2 separate regions of the Homo sapiens genome follow, and region 2 is linked to region 1. Evidence: promoter capture Hi-C in 16 types of primary human blood cells and fetal thymus (Javierre and others, 2016). All regions are on one chromosome and are shown on one strand. The core of a region is centred on a gene start or on the middle of the fragment in contact, and the rest is flanking DNA. Distances in the headings are between cores, read along the strand shown. Region 1 holds the start of CHMP1B (charged multivesicular body protein 1B). Region 2 holds the start of CEP76 (centrosomal protein 76).

The links. Contacts are between HindIII fragments. The CHiCAGO score rates a contact against its expected background, and 5 or more counts as called.
Region 2: a fragment that was not itself captured here is called in contact with the fragment with the promoter of CHMP1B in region 1 in 1 of 17 cell types (naive CD8 T cells); the score reaches 5.2 in naive CD8 T cells.

Annotation. Positions count from the first base shown.
Region 1 is chr18:11,847,639-11,854,974 of GRCh38, reverse strand. It overlaps CHMP1B (charged multivesicular body protein 1B), which reads right to left and starts at 3,562. Exons shown (of 1, transcript NM_020412.5): 1 at 531-3,562. The coding sequence starts at 3,463. The coding sequence ends at 2,864. The region is part of intron 5 of GNAL (G protein subunit alpha L); the gene reads right to left. RefSeq lists a silencer at 2,851-3,145 and enhancers at 3,152-3,201, 3,470-3,709. The HindIII fragment of the contact is 8,099 bases long and covers 1,687-7,336 here.
Region 2 is chr18:12,698,822-12,705,573 of GRCh38, reverse strand. It overlaps CEP76 (centrosomal protein 76), which reads left to right and starts at 2,851. Exons shown (of 12, transcript NM_024899.4): 1 at 2,851-3,088; 2 at 4,461-4,616; 3 at 5,669-5,744; 4 at 6,371-6,595. The coding sequence starts at 3,026. It overlaps PSMG2 (proteasome assembly chaperone 2), which reads right to left and starts at 2,532. Exons shown (of 7, transcript NM_020232.5): 1 at 2,410-2,532. The coding sequence starts at 2,466. RefSeq lists enhancers at 3,164-3,213, 3,224-3,523, 2,809-3,706. The HindIII fragment of the contact is 2,094 bases long and covers 4,333-6,426 here.

The sequences.
Region 1 (7,336 bases), core at 2,313-4,812:
CTTCAGCCTGGGCGACAGTGAGACTCCGTCTCAAAACAGCAACAACAAAAATAAGCCAGGGATCCTAGAAATATGCAAGAAAAAGCCATACTAACCAAACAAAAATTTAAGTGCTAAGACTGAGGGTGAATTTGGAAAAATATCATGCTTTCTGACCCAAATCTACCTCAGAATTTTTTTTTTTCCTTTTTTTGAGACTGAGTTTCATCCTTGTTGCGCAGGCTAGAGTGCAATGGCGCAATCTTGGCTCACCTCAACCTCCGCCTCCCAGGTTCAAGCAATTCTCCTGCCTCAGCCTCCTGAGTAGCTGAGATTACAGGTGTGCAGCACCACGCCCAGCTAATTTCATATTTTTAGTAGAGGCGGGGTTTCTCCATGTTGGTCAGGCTAGTCTCAAACTCCTGACCTCAGGTGATCTGCCCACCTCAGCCTCCCAAAGTGCTGGGATTACAGGCGTGAGCCACTGTGCCCCGCAATTCTTTTTTCTTAAGTGTTTTTTAAAACAGGATGCACACTCACATCCAATAACATGCAGTTTAAAATGATTTAATTGACAAATTCTTGTGATTTACATTTCAGTAATCAACTGCAAAAGTGAGGAAGTAATTCATGGGCCTGTAGTGCTTTTGAAAATAATATTTATGACTCATAAAAATGTACATTCATAATAGTATGACATGGACATATTTTAAGAAAGTTCAAGCATATACAAGCATTGTTTAATCTCACAAAATATATTAATTTTGTTGGGAATATGTGCATTATAAAAGGGTCTTTAGTTTACCAAAGGGTTCAACACTAAGCTATTTTTAAAGTTGTAATTATTTTTTCCAATCTAAAGAGGGGTTAAGGCCAGGTGCAGTGGCTCATGCCTGTAATCCCAGCACTTTGGGAGGCTGAGGTGGGCGGATCACCTGAGGTCAGGAGTTCAAGACCAGCCTGGCCAACATAGTGAAACCCTGTCTCTACTAAAAATACAAAAAAACTAGCTGGGCATGGTGGTGCACACCTGTAATTCCAGCTACTCGGCAGGCTGAGGCAGGAGAATCACTTGAACCCGGGAGGTGGAGGTTGCAGTGAGCAGAGATCGCGCCACAGCACTCCAGCCTGGGCAACAGAGCGAGACTCTGTCTCAAAAATAAAATAAAAGAGGGGTTAAGACTCATGCTGTCTTCACACATGGCCCTGCACAACCATGTGGAGGACAGGAGGGATATTCTTGAGAGATGCTGGGCAGACAACTAACAAGTGTCCCTTAAAGCACACTTCTGAACAATGTCCAGTCAAATATAAAATAACTTAAATATGAGGGTCACTCCTCATCTGCACGCACCTGTTACACTTTTTTTTTCCTTACTCATTTACACTGGGAAACATGTTATAATAGTGAATAGTTGGTTATGAATCTTTCAAAGAACTTGGAAGGGCCCCTATAATTATTTTCTGAAACAATGGAATTCTCTTATGGAAAAATCTTCCAGTGAAGGAAAGGGTAAGTTAAAAAAAACTTGAATTAACTTAGGTTAGCATGCTTGCCAAGGCAAAAGCAAGTTGCTTTTCTCCATGTTTCGAGGCTATGAGAAAGCGGTGGATACATGCTTTACTTTTCAGCCAGAAAATACGCACTGCCATTCCTGAGAAGATGGCAGGCAGCACAGCTGGGCTCTAGCCTTAAAGACTCAAGCTTTCTCCTTCCTTCCAGTCCTACCTCTTTACTTCTCAGATTTCCAGCTGGCTGGATGTATACATAAATGACTTGCATGGCTAAGTAAAACATTCCAGCTTATATTTTCAAGGATTTCCAAGAGTTCTTGCTTTTGGACAAATTAATAAATGCAAATTAGAACTTAAAACGCAGTTCTAATTTTATTTCTATTTTTGGTTGTTAAAATCAAAACAAAACCTACACACACACAGTCCTAGGGTTTTCTCAAACGAAATCAACAGTTCTTTGGCAATGTTAAGAGTGTGTAACATGACTGCCATGCTAATTAGCATAATTTATAAGACTTCTAATAGTGTTGAAACAGGAAAATAACTATAAACTTGTTAGAGAAGTTCGTTTGAAAGACACTGTCAAATGTCACACTAAGTCTTTTTAAAAACTCAATTTAGTAAGTAGAAAATATAAATGAACAAATTTAATTTTTCCAGATAATAAAGGAAGTTATTCGGCATTTTTCCCAGTTACGCAAAGACAATTATCACGTGAAAAATTTATAGAATGTAAGCAGTAAGAGAGTATTATGCAAAAATATCCTAAGGTAATTTCAGTATAAATTATAGGACCACATTTATTAATAATATACGTTATGAGAACAATCATTTGCAGTCTCACTGTGAAGGCAAAAAAAAAAAAAACAAAAACCAAAACCCAAAGGATAAACAGAAATAGCACAGTCCACCGAATACACTGCATGGTGTTTATAACTGTATAACCAAACTAAGTAATCTTTCCCCTCTCTTTAACTTTTATGCACCACCTGCCATTCTAGATACTATCAATCACACTAAATAATAATAAAAACCAACCACCTTCAATCTGATCATTCTGGGCAGGAAACTGAATACAGTTTTGACCAGATCTTCGAGAAAGATTCATATACACGAAATTAACTAGTTCTGTTAAAAGGCTGCTATAAAAATACCATCATTACGAGCTATACAGAACTTTAGAATCCAGCTAAGAGTGCAGAAATACTGAATTTCTTAATTTATGTGGAGGGGGCTGTAAACCCAAAGGTAGAAGGGCATTTCAGCATTCTGGCGTGTTCAGAGTTTCTAGGGTATAGTATCTCTCTAACACACAGAGAGCATTTCAAAGGGTGGCTATGGCCAGGAAACCTCAGAGCGGGTTCTGCCGTCACACTTGATCCCGAAGGCGGGCCAGTCTCTGAGACAGTTCATCCTGCTCCGCCGAAGCCACGCTCGTGCCCACGGAGCCGGTCTGGCCCTGCGGCAGCTCCATGTTGAGGTCGAGGCCCGCCTCATCTGCCATTTCCTGGAGCAGCATATCCACTTGGTTCTGGGGAGTGGTGAGCGTCGTCGTGCTGCTCATCGTGTCTTCCATTTGCTGCGTCTGGACGTCCAGAGTCTCAAACTGGTGCTCGAATTTGTCCATCAAAGCAGAAATCTTCTCCAGATTCATGGTCTTCAATGTCGCATCCATCGACTTAACCACACCAGCCATCGACTTGGTCACCTTGCCCATCGTCACCGCCGTCTGGACCCTGGCAGCCACTGCATCGACTCGCGCACTCATTCTCAAGAAATTCACCGCCTGGTTCTTCTGGCGGATGGCATTTTCGGCGTGTATCCTCGCAACTTCCATGTTGCCCTTCTGAATGGCCTTTTTAATTTTGGCCTTTTCGGCCTTTTCCTCCTTATCGCATTTTTTGGCACTCCTACTCAGTTCTTTGGCCGCGAACTTCAGGTTGAACAGGTGTTTCTCCATGTTAGACATAGTCGGACGGCTCCTTTGGGTCGGCGGCCCGGCTGAGAAGCGCGCCGAAGGCAGAGAAGGTAAGGTAAGTCCGCTCCCGGCCGCCGCTCCTTTGTTTTGGTCCCACTTCCTGTTTCTACTGTGAGCGGCGCAGGTGGTGACGTCAGAGCCCAGCGCCAAAGGCGGAGCCTGCGGGACGGAAGGCGCCGGGGTGGGGCCTGTGGGACGTAAGACGCCAGGGGCTGCGCATGCAGGGGGATTCTGGCTGGACGCTCCGGCGCTGCGGCGGGGAACGCTCGCTTCCTGCGCTGCGTTCTACCCGGTTTTTAAAATTCTAACGCATTAGTCAATTCACAAAAATTAGTGCCCCCACGCACTTTCCTAGTAATAAATCTACCGAAGTAGACAGGATCTGTGGAGACCCGCGTGTAAAATTACCCACGCTCCAAACTTGGCAGGCTTTATAAAGGGTGACTGGCTAGCGGGCTAAAAACCAGCCAAACATCAGCTAGGTCTTCGCACTAACGCTTGCTTTATTAGCATGGGTAATTTCCACTTTCTCAGGGGAACTGGAAACCATGGATACATTAAAAACAAAAACATTAAAACACATTAAAAACAAACGGGTCATTGACGCGTCTCCATCTTTGACTACAATTTGTGCTAGAGTTCTGTAATATCCTTTTATTGCATTGAGTGAAAATAATCTTCAAAACTGTGGCACCACCAAATTTATACTTTGTCTGGAAGTTCAGCTTCTAGGTGAGTTGCCAGCAATTATCCAAAAATCGTCCCGTGGTTTAGTAATAAAAAGACCCATCTTTTGCTGACACCATTCTGTCTTTTTGATGTTTTATAAATATCCAAGGAACTTCACTCACATTTAAGTTTGACAGGCTAAACTGTCATTTTAAATTATGCAGGCAGAGTATGTTGAGATATCAGGACCCACACCCACGGGCATACATCAAAACTGTCACTATGTATTACGCCCTTTAAAAATGCTGGCTTTCAAATGGCAGCAATGTGTGCTGTCACTTTTCTCTTTAGAAAGATTCCTCCGATACAGCAATAACAATGTGAGAAGACCAAATCTGCCCTAATGAGGTAGGCTGAAAATGAACTCTGAGAGCGAATTCTGTTTAGAGATCATTTTAATCTAGCAGCCTGCCACCTCGCTTAGCTTCCTGTGATAGCTTGCCAGTCAGTTTCACAACACAAGACCTTCTGAAGACATAGCTCTGATGTTTTCACTCTCTTGCTCCAAACCCCGGGCATGGAGGCTAAACCTGCTGTGCAGCATGCTGGCTCGTCTTTCGCGCCCCTCCACCTCCGCCAGTCAAAGCAAACCGCAGCATGGAATTTGAGCATTATTTGCGTCATTCGGCCAGCGGGGAGAATGTGACTGACGCCCGGTCCTGTGGCTATGCTGTTCCTGTTGCCTGGATTTTAGTGTCCATGCATCTCTGCCTATTGACACCCTGCCAGTCCTTCAAAAGCCACCTTCACCATGGAGCCTCCCCAGGACTCCTCCTCTGTGTGGCCATACTACAGGGCACATTGCCTGGCAAGGGGTCTGTGTGTATAGGTCACCTGTTACAGTGTGAACTACTTGGATGCAGACACTGATTCCTTCCCCTCTCCATGGAGCCCAGCAGGCGCTCTGCACACAGCAGCCACTGAATCCAGATGGCGTTGCTGAATTTAATTGTATTTCAGAGGGGATAGGATGTTACCCTAGTTAGCAGCTTAGCTATGGTTCCTTTTTGCCCCGCAAAGCAGTAGAACCCTTTTTCCAAATGAAACTTTTCTAGAAATGGAATATAAACAACCAAAAAAAAGGGGAAGAAATCTGTTCAAAGTGGATATAGAGAGCTTAGGCCCCCTACTCTGCTCACCCTCCATTCCACTCTTCCCTTCTTTTAGGTCCTGGTTTTTCTTGGAGTTTGCAAACAAGTTTCTTATCCAGCTTCCATGTCATGCTCCATAGTTTTCTTTTTTCTTTTCTTTCTTTTTTTTTTTTTTTTTTTTGAGATGAAATCTTGCTTTGTCACTCAGGCTGGAGTGCAGTAGTGTGATCTTGGCTCACTGCAGCCTCCCCCTTCTGGGTTCACGCGATTCTCCTGCCTCAGTCTCCCGAGTAGCTGAGATTACAGGCACACGCCAGCACTACCGGCTAATTTTTGTATTTTCAGTACAGCTGGGGTTTCGCCATGTTGGTCAGGCTGGCCTCGAACTCCTGACCTCAGTTGATCTGCCCACCTTGGCATTCCAAAGTGCTGGGATTATAGGCGTGGGCCACCGTGCCCAGCCCATAGTTTTCTTAATGACAAATTCTGACTAGGTGAGATGGTTTGGAATATAATCATGAGAGACTCCGATAGATGATGATGATAATGACAACTAACATTAATAAAGTACTTATGCACCAGACATTGTTCTGGGCACTTTACATAAATTAACTCATTTCAGCTTCGCAAACCCTATGAAGTAGATACTATAAATGTCTCCAGTTCACAGGTAATGAAAAGGAAGCACAGAGAGCTAAGAAACTTGCCTGAACCCACACATTAGGTAAGTGTTAGAAACCGGATTCCATGGATGTATTGGGACCAGTAATAAGGCAATGGGGAATCCAATGAACATGAATTAATAAGAATAAAATAATGATCATCATGTAGCCTAAAGAAAGAAGTTGACTTTCCAGCTGTTTTTTTGAGAAGACAGAGTTGCATTGACTGCAAAGTTAATATGAACTTTATAAAGTGTGGTTGTTGACTGGGCATGGTGGCTCAGGAATGTAATCCTAGCACTTTGGGGGGCTGAGGTGGGTGGATCGCTTGAGGCCAGGGGTTCAAGACCAGCCTGGCCAACATGGGGAAAGCCCGTCTCTACTAAAAATACAAAAATTAGCTGGGTGTGGTGGTGCATGCCTGTAATCCCAGCCACTTGGAAGGCTGAGACAGGAGAATCGCTTGAACTGGAAAGGTGGAGGTTGCAGTGAGCTGAGATCACGCCAGTGCACTACAGCCTGGGTGACAGAGAGAGACTCCTTCTCAAAAAAAAAAAAAGAAAAGAAAAAAAAAGAAAAAGTATGGTTGCTAAAAGAAGTTGCCATCACCTGAAGCTACATTCCTTGGATGATGACACCTCTACTTTCTGTGCTGGAGAGAAGGTATAGGTGGAGTTCCAGAAGCCATCTTCCCAGAGAGACCAGGGCTGACTAGAATTCTGAAGAGAAGGCTGTTCTCCTCCTCTCCCTGACAGTTCCCCAGCCCTGCCCTCTTCTTTCTCTTATCAACACCCCAGCCATTTCCACGGTGTTCAATAGGATCCATAGCTAACTGCTCTCATGTTCACATTTCCACGGAGAGATTTGCTTCTGAGCTCCAAACCCATATGCCCAGCTGTCTCCTTGGTGCTGGGCGCTCTGTGGCCCAAGACTGATTGGCAACTCCTCAAAGTGACTGAACTCAGTCCTTTCCCCCAAATCTGCTCATTCCCATTTACTACTGGCACCTCCATCTACCTTGTCATTCGAGTTGGATTTGGAAGAATTATCTCTGACCACCGTGGTATCTGAATCTGCATCTACCCTGGCTCTAAGTTTTTTCCATTCTTTATATTCCATTGAGGTTGACAACCTTCAGGGTCTGTTTCAGCTTGGTATGCTTTCTCTTTTTGTGTATCTAGCAAAAGGAAGATTATTTTGGGATTATTATTAAAGGAGGTTTTGGTCCTACAACCATGCTAATTGTACGTGAAAATGTTTTGGACCCAATACAGATGTGAAAACAGAACATACAGTTTATAATGACTGGAATTGTTTAGCAACTACCACGTTAACATTGAAACCTTGCAAGTCCCATAGCCAAATTTTCTTAGTGAAAAAAA
Region 2 (6,752 bases), core at 4,130-6,629, 850 kb before region 1:
CTCTCTCTCTCTCTCTCTCTCTCTCTCTTTTTCCCATGACTTAAAATAATGAAGCTGCCAAATCCCTACCTACATCCCAGAACACGTAGGAGCTCCACAACCTAATGGACGTCTCCACATGGTTAGGTCACAGGAAACTCACATTCCACATGTCCAAAACTATAAACTTTTGCCCAAATTTTTCCCCATATTTTGTATTTTAGAAAAGGGCGCCGGGCATGGTGTCTCATGCCTGTAATCCCAGCACTTTGGGAGGCCGAGGCAGGTGGATCACCTGAGGTTAGGAGTTTGAGACCAGCCTGGCCTACATGGTGAAACCCTGTCTCTACCAAAAATACAAAATTAGCTGGGCGTGGTGGTGCATGCCTATAATCCCAGCTACTCGGGAGGCAGAGGCAGGAGAATCACTTGAACCCAGGAGGCAGAGGTTGCAGTGAGCCAAGATCGTGCCATTGCACTCCAGACTGGGCAAAAAAGAGCAAAACTCCATCTCAAAAAAAAAAAAAAGTTCAATATTATTCAATCTACCTAAACTTCTTCCCATTCCCTTACCAACTACATCTAATACATGCCTAATTTTTATTGAGGCTATCCCCCAAGTATCCTTTTAATGTAGCTCCTCCTTTGCATTCTTCCAACAACTCCTTTTGTTTTCTGTCCTTCGGGTGTTCCCTCAGCATGTTCTCCCACTTTTCACTGTTGTCACCTACCAATTGCCTAGTTACCTCCTGCAATTCCCTTCTCAACGATTTTGCTACTTGGGTTAAACTCTTCTGTACCATCCTTCTTTTCCTCACAATATTGTATTATTCCCATCAGCACGTAAACATGCTCTAATATCTTTCATTCTAAAAGGCTCTCCCTTGACCCCACATAGCCCTCTAACTGCAACCTCATTTCTTGTTTCTCTATGTAGCAAAAATTCTCCAAGTCGTCCACGAAAACATAAGCAGAAACTTTATCTCTTATTAAAAAAAAGTTTTTTGAGACAGGGTCTCACTCTGTCGCCCAGGCTGGAGTGCAGTGGCACGATTTCAGCTCACTGCAGCCTCTGCTTCCTGGGCTCAAGTGATCCTCCCACCTCAGCTTCCCGAGTAGCTGAGATACAGGTGCAGGAAACCACACCTGGCTAATTTTTATTTATTTTTTTGTAGAGATGAGGTATCACTATGTCGCCCAGGCTGGTCTTGAACTCCTGAGCTCAAGCGATCCTCCTGTACTCGGCCTTCTAAAGTGCTGGGATTACAGGCATGAGCCATCATGCCTGTCTCTGAATTAATGACTGAATATATATTATACAACCCAAATCTTTAACTTGTTTTCTATCATTCATTCAACCCACTCCAATATGGCTTTCCTCTTCACCACTTCACTGGTAACTGTTTGTCCAGGTGACCATCATTAACATGTCGCTAAATCCAAACATACACTTTCTTCACCTTACACATCTCTGGGCTACTTTTGACATGGCCACTCCCTCCTTTTTGAAACACTCTTCTCTGGGGCTGTGTGTTTTATATGTAATGAATAAGGATGACACTTCCAGCTCTCTCCAGCCTTATACCACTCCAAACAGTGCATTTTCCAATGGTGCCTTCTGGGTTCACAGGGCCTACAGCCTATTCTCTCTCAATGTGTCATTCCAAATTCTTGGCAGTCTTCAAGTCCCCCTGCTTACTGACTCTGTTTTAGACATCCATCTTTCTGAAACGCCTACTTTCCCCTACTCCCAGCCCACGGGCCCTCCATCTTTTGCATACTACTTTCTCTATAAAGCCTTTCTTAACAAGCCATCTGTCCCTCCCCTCCCAATTATCTCAGGACCTTTCTATACCCTTTCAAGCTTCTAGCCTAGCATTTATTGCTCTTAGATTACATGTTTCCAACTACAGTGTAAATTCTTTGAGGGCACGCACCTAGTCTTATTCTAATACTCGCACATAACAGACTTTATTAAAACAATGAATGAATATAAAGAGCGATAAAACTGCGCTAACTACCGGCAAGAGTTAATGTTTATTGCCCTATCAGTAGTTCTCCGGTTAACAACGATAATATGCTAGCTTAAGACTAATTCTAAAACTAGTCGTAGAAAGACTTTCTAGGATAAAACTGAAGGATGCCCTGCAAAACATAAGTACAGTGTATCTAGAACGTACGAACACATCACGTTTTACAGGAAACAGAGACTACAAATTGTAGACTTGACTACGTTTGGTTTTACAGCCGACAAAGGTTCTGTTTGGACGGCTGCCTCCGGCTACAACCTCCCTGTTTTTTCCGGCCGAAAACATGAAATAGAAACTAGTGCCCTATTTCTCCCAAGGCACCGCCAAACACCCCGCGTCGGGGTGGCGACACCGCAGGGGCCTCGGGAGGCGGCAGCCCCGAGCGCAAATGGAGACTCACCATTAGGAGGGTGAAGCCGGCAAGGTCGGGGGCCGACTCCCCGCAGGGAACGAACATGGTCGCAGTGGGGTGGCCAGCAGGGACTAACCGCGGCCCTGGCAAGAACGAGGGCAGCAAGAAGGCGGAAGCCCGAGACCCCGGAGCCTCGCGGGGCGCGGGAGGGTCCTTTGAGTCCCTGGGCGCCGGGCCCTTGAGGCCCGTCCAGCTAACTGCCGGTTCAGAGGGCGGAAAGAGGCCGCCGGGTGGCCGCGAAGAGGGGCCAGCAGCGCTTTCGGAGACCCTGGCAAGCAAGGCGATGGGGTGCGCTGAGGTCTCGGGGTGCGGGGCCCGCGGGGAGGTGGAGCGGCGGGCGGAAACGATCAGGCAGCGTGCGGGCCAGCCCCAAGCCCTGTTTGTCCGCCACTGTTTGAAAACAGTTGGCGCCGCCGCCGCCGGGGCCTCATTTCCAGGTCAGCCCCCGGCCTGACGCGGCGTTGCGTCCCCCGGGAGCTGCGCTAGGCGAACGGCTGCGGCGCTTTGTGCTCCAGTCGCTCCTAACGCTCCCTGGCCCGGCCGGGGCCGCGCAGTTAGGGCATCTGAGGCGGGGAGAAGCGGCGGGGAGACGCCGGCTGCCAGCATGTCGCTGCCTCCGGAGAAAGCCTCCGAGCTGAAGCAGCTCATCCACCAGCAGCTGAGCAAGGTGAGAGTCGCGGGTGCTGGGAGAGACCGCCGGGCCGACCCATAACCTTTCCCTCCTGCCCGGCGGCCCCGGGCCGACAGCGGCATCTGCTTGCCGGGACTGTAGCGAGGATTGTGGGGTGCGCAACGCAGAGTAGGCAGAGCTTTGAGTTTGAGGCAGGAGAGCGTCCTCGTCTCCGAGAAAGAAAACGAGCCGAGCAGGTGCTAGCAAGAGTCTGGGGCGATAGAACGAGCGGTCTTGGCGTTTTAGGACGGCCGTGAGAATGAAGCGCTTAGCGAGCGACTTCTGGAAGTCGGATCGAGTGTAAGTTGTATTTGGAGGTTTATATTCTGCTGTAAGATATCAGGTTTTTTTTCTTTCTTGAGACGGAGTCTCTCTGTTGCCCAGGCTGGAGTGCAGTGGCACGATCTCGGCTCACTGCAACCTCCGCCTCCCAGGTTTAAGCGATTCTCCGCCTCAGCCTCCCGAGTAGCTGGGATTACAGGCGCGCGCCACCACGCTCGGCTAATTTTTGTATTTTTAGTAGAGACGGTTTCACCATGTTGGTGTGGCTGGTCCCGAACTCCTGACTTCGTGATCCGGCCGCCTCGGCCTCCTAAAGTGCTGGGATTACAGGCGTGAGCCTCCGCGCCCGGCAGATATCAGGGTTTCTTTACCGCTGAAACATGTGGGTATCAGCGAAGTTGAACCAGGAGCTTCAATCAGCAATTCTCAAATAAGTCATGGAAGAGAAGTTACTAAAGGGTTTGTAATGACGGAATTTGTTAATATTTCGGAGCTCCAGAAGAACCTCCAGTTTCTGCAGCGCTCGCTCGACTGAGTGCAAGATGCTGAAGTGATAAAAGCGACCATTTATGGTGCCCTTGTGTGCCAGGCTTTGTGCTGTCTAGTATCTTTAATCCTCACAACACTATCGTGAGAGGGCACTACACTAGGTTTTTCCATTCTTATCGGTGACGAAACAGATTTATAAAGGGTAAATAAGTTGGCTTGAGGTTACACATCTACTAAGTTGAAAGCTGGTAAGATTCCCTTATCATTAGGCAGATCAAAGTATGAAAGTAATAAGATCATACTTTGATCTGCCTACTCCCAGTCCGTGTTCTTCTGATTATACTATACTCCCTCTCAGAAGATTCCTTTTGGTTGAGTGTTGTTTGTGGAGAAATGGTAACAAAGGTGCCAGATAACCAGTGGAGACTATTTCTAGAATTTGTACTCAAAAGATTCATTCTTTAAAAGCTTACCTTTGTTCCCATTCAATTGTGGTAACAATTGTGCATTTACTGTTAGCTGGAGAACCTTAAAACTTCAGAAGCAGTATTTGACTGCTTTGTGATGTTATAAATTGTAATATGAGTTTTCTACATAGATGGATGTCCATGGTAGAATAAGAGAAATCCTTGCTGAGACTATACGGGAAGAATTGGCACCTGATCAACAGCATTTATCAACAGAAGATTTGATCAAAGCCCTTAGACGTCGAGGAATCATTGACGATGTGATGAAAGAACTTAATTTTGTTACTGTGAGTAATCTTTTAGGGAAATAAATGAGAGTATATATGTATATACTAATGCGTAACACTACTTATAAGGTTCCGATGTGGGGCCTTTCGTTTTAGTAAAACCACTTCAAGGTCATTCTGTTTACTAGTGTCCTTGTTTCAAGTATAGGCTAGCTCTGCCCTTGAATATACTGAATAGTTTTGTGTATCAATGAAATTTGTGTTAGATATCTTATTCCTGTCTCTACAGTGACAGAATTTTCTCTTATTTTCTAGGTCTGTAAATTTGAATATACATACTTTAGTCCAATTAGTTCACCATAACAAAGTTCTTTTTCATTATGATCTGTAACTTTTTTAGATTAAGCGTATTTTTAAAATAAGCACTCTTTTGGGATTATATTCTCTATGATTAACAAATTACAAATTTCTTTAAGAAAATAATTGACTGCATAAGAGTCCTCAAATCTTTTAATACAAATAGGTCAATAATGGGATGATAGTCTCTCAGTGCACAATTAGTAAGTAGGCCTTCATTTGAAAGTGAGGCAATAATGGAAACTGTGACCTCAATACCTGGGTAATATAATGTGAAAATTGGATGGACTTCATAATACAATAGGGAATAAGTATTTTAATACAGCACCTTTTTTTGGTTTTTGAAGTTTATGAACCCGTTTGTTATAAAAATTGACCTAATAACAGCTTCTACTCTGTGATGACACTTTATTAAAATCAGCTCATAGTGGAATTATAAGCCAACTGTTACATAAGGTTTACAGAAAGTTTAACCTTGTTGAAGGTATTAAGGATTTGTTTTTAGCTTTATGTGGATAGTATTACTTGAAGACAGTTTAATTCCTTAGCATTTGATTTTAGGAGTGATCAGTTTACATCATCTTTTATGCAGGCTTTTATTTTCATTATTTTAATTAGGCTAGGAAAATAAGGGGTTCTTTGAAAGGGCCTTACCCTGTTGACTTTAGGTTCAGTGCTTAGTCATGTTTATTGACATTTCCTTAACCTATAATTGTTTTCTAATTTGTTTTGATTTTTTTTTCCTGCCTTTCTAGGACAGTGTTGAGCAAGAACTCCCTTCCTCTCCAAAACAACCTATTTGTTTTGATAGACAATCGACATTAAAAAAAAGTATGTATATTTTAACATTAATTTAGTTGTGGTTAATAGTAAATATTGATGTGGTGTAGTCTTTCGTATTTGATAGAAGACATTTCCATTTTTTCCCCCCAAAATAAAATACTTAAAATTTTATGGTTGGCTAAAACAGATTGTTTTGCATGAAGTATATCAGAAGAGTTAATGTATAGCACGGTAGAAGCAAAAACAGCATCACCAGTTTCTTGTGTTTTAATAATATGTTTTATAAAAACTGTACAGCCTTGCTTTTAAATATTAATATAATTGACAAATACACTTGCTGAATTGATAATTATATGAGTTGGTTTGTGAAGGTGGAGGAATGTTGGATAAGCAGTTAAAAAGCAAAAGTATACTACATATTGGCTCTGATGCCTTTTCCAGCTGGGAGAAAGTAGCCTGGATGTAAACTCAGAAAAGAATATCATATTTTGTGTATCTTCTCCCCAGAGTGCAAATGATTCTGGCATATACAGTAATAAATTTGTTACTCTTTTGCTTTTTTTTTAGTCTTTGGTATTGGGTTTTTATCTGTCAAGTTTTTATTTCCTAATGTCTTGATCACATTCTTTTAAGTTATTTGGCAGTTTCCTCATATATATTGCTACACTTTACAGCTAATATTGATCCAACACGGAGGTATCTTTACCTTCAGGTTTTGGGTGGAAAAGCTTTCTTGGAACATCTGCAAGAACCTGAGCCTTTACCTGGACAAGTTTGTTCAACGTTTACTTTATGTTTACATTATCGAAACCAACGTTTTCGTTCTAAACCTGTTCCATGTGCCTGTGAACCAGATTTTCATGATGGCTTTTTACTTGAAGTACACAGAGAAAGCTTGGGTAAGAAACAGTAATAAATTGTCATTTAATTGAGTAAATCTTTGTTATGTTTTATTGTGAAACAATAATAATGACTTTTTCTGTAAGGAGAGATTTATAATGGAGGAATCTCTATTTTGTTTCCCACTGCTCTTTTCAATTTAAACTACTATCCACC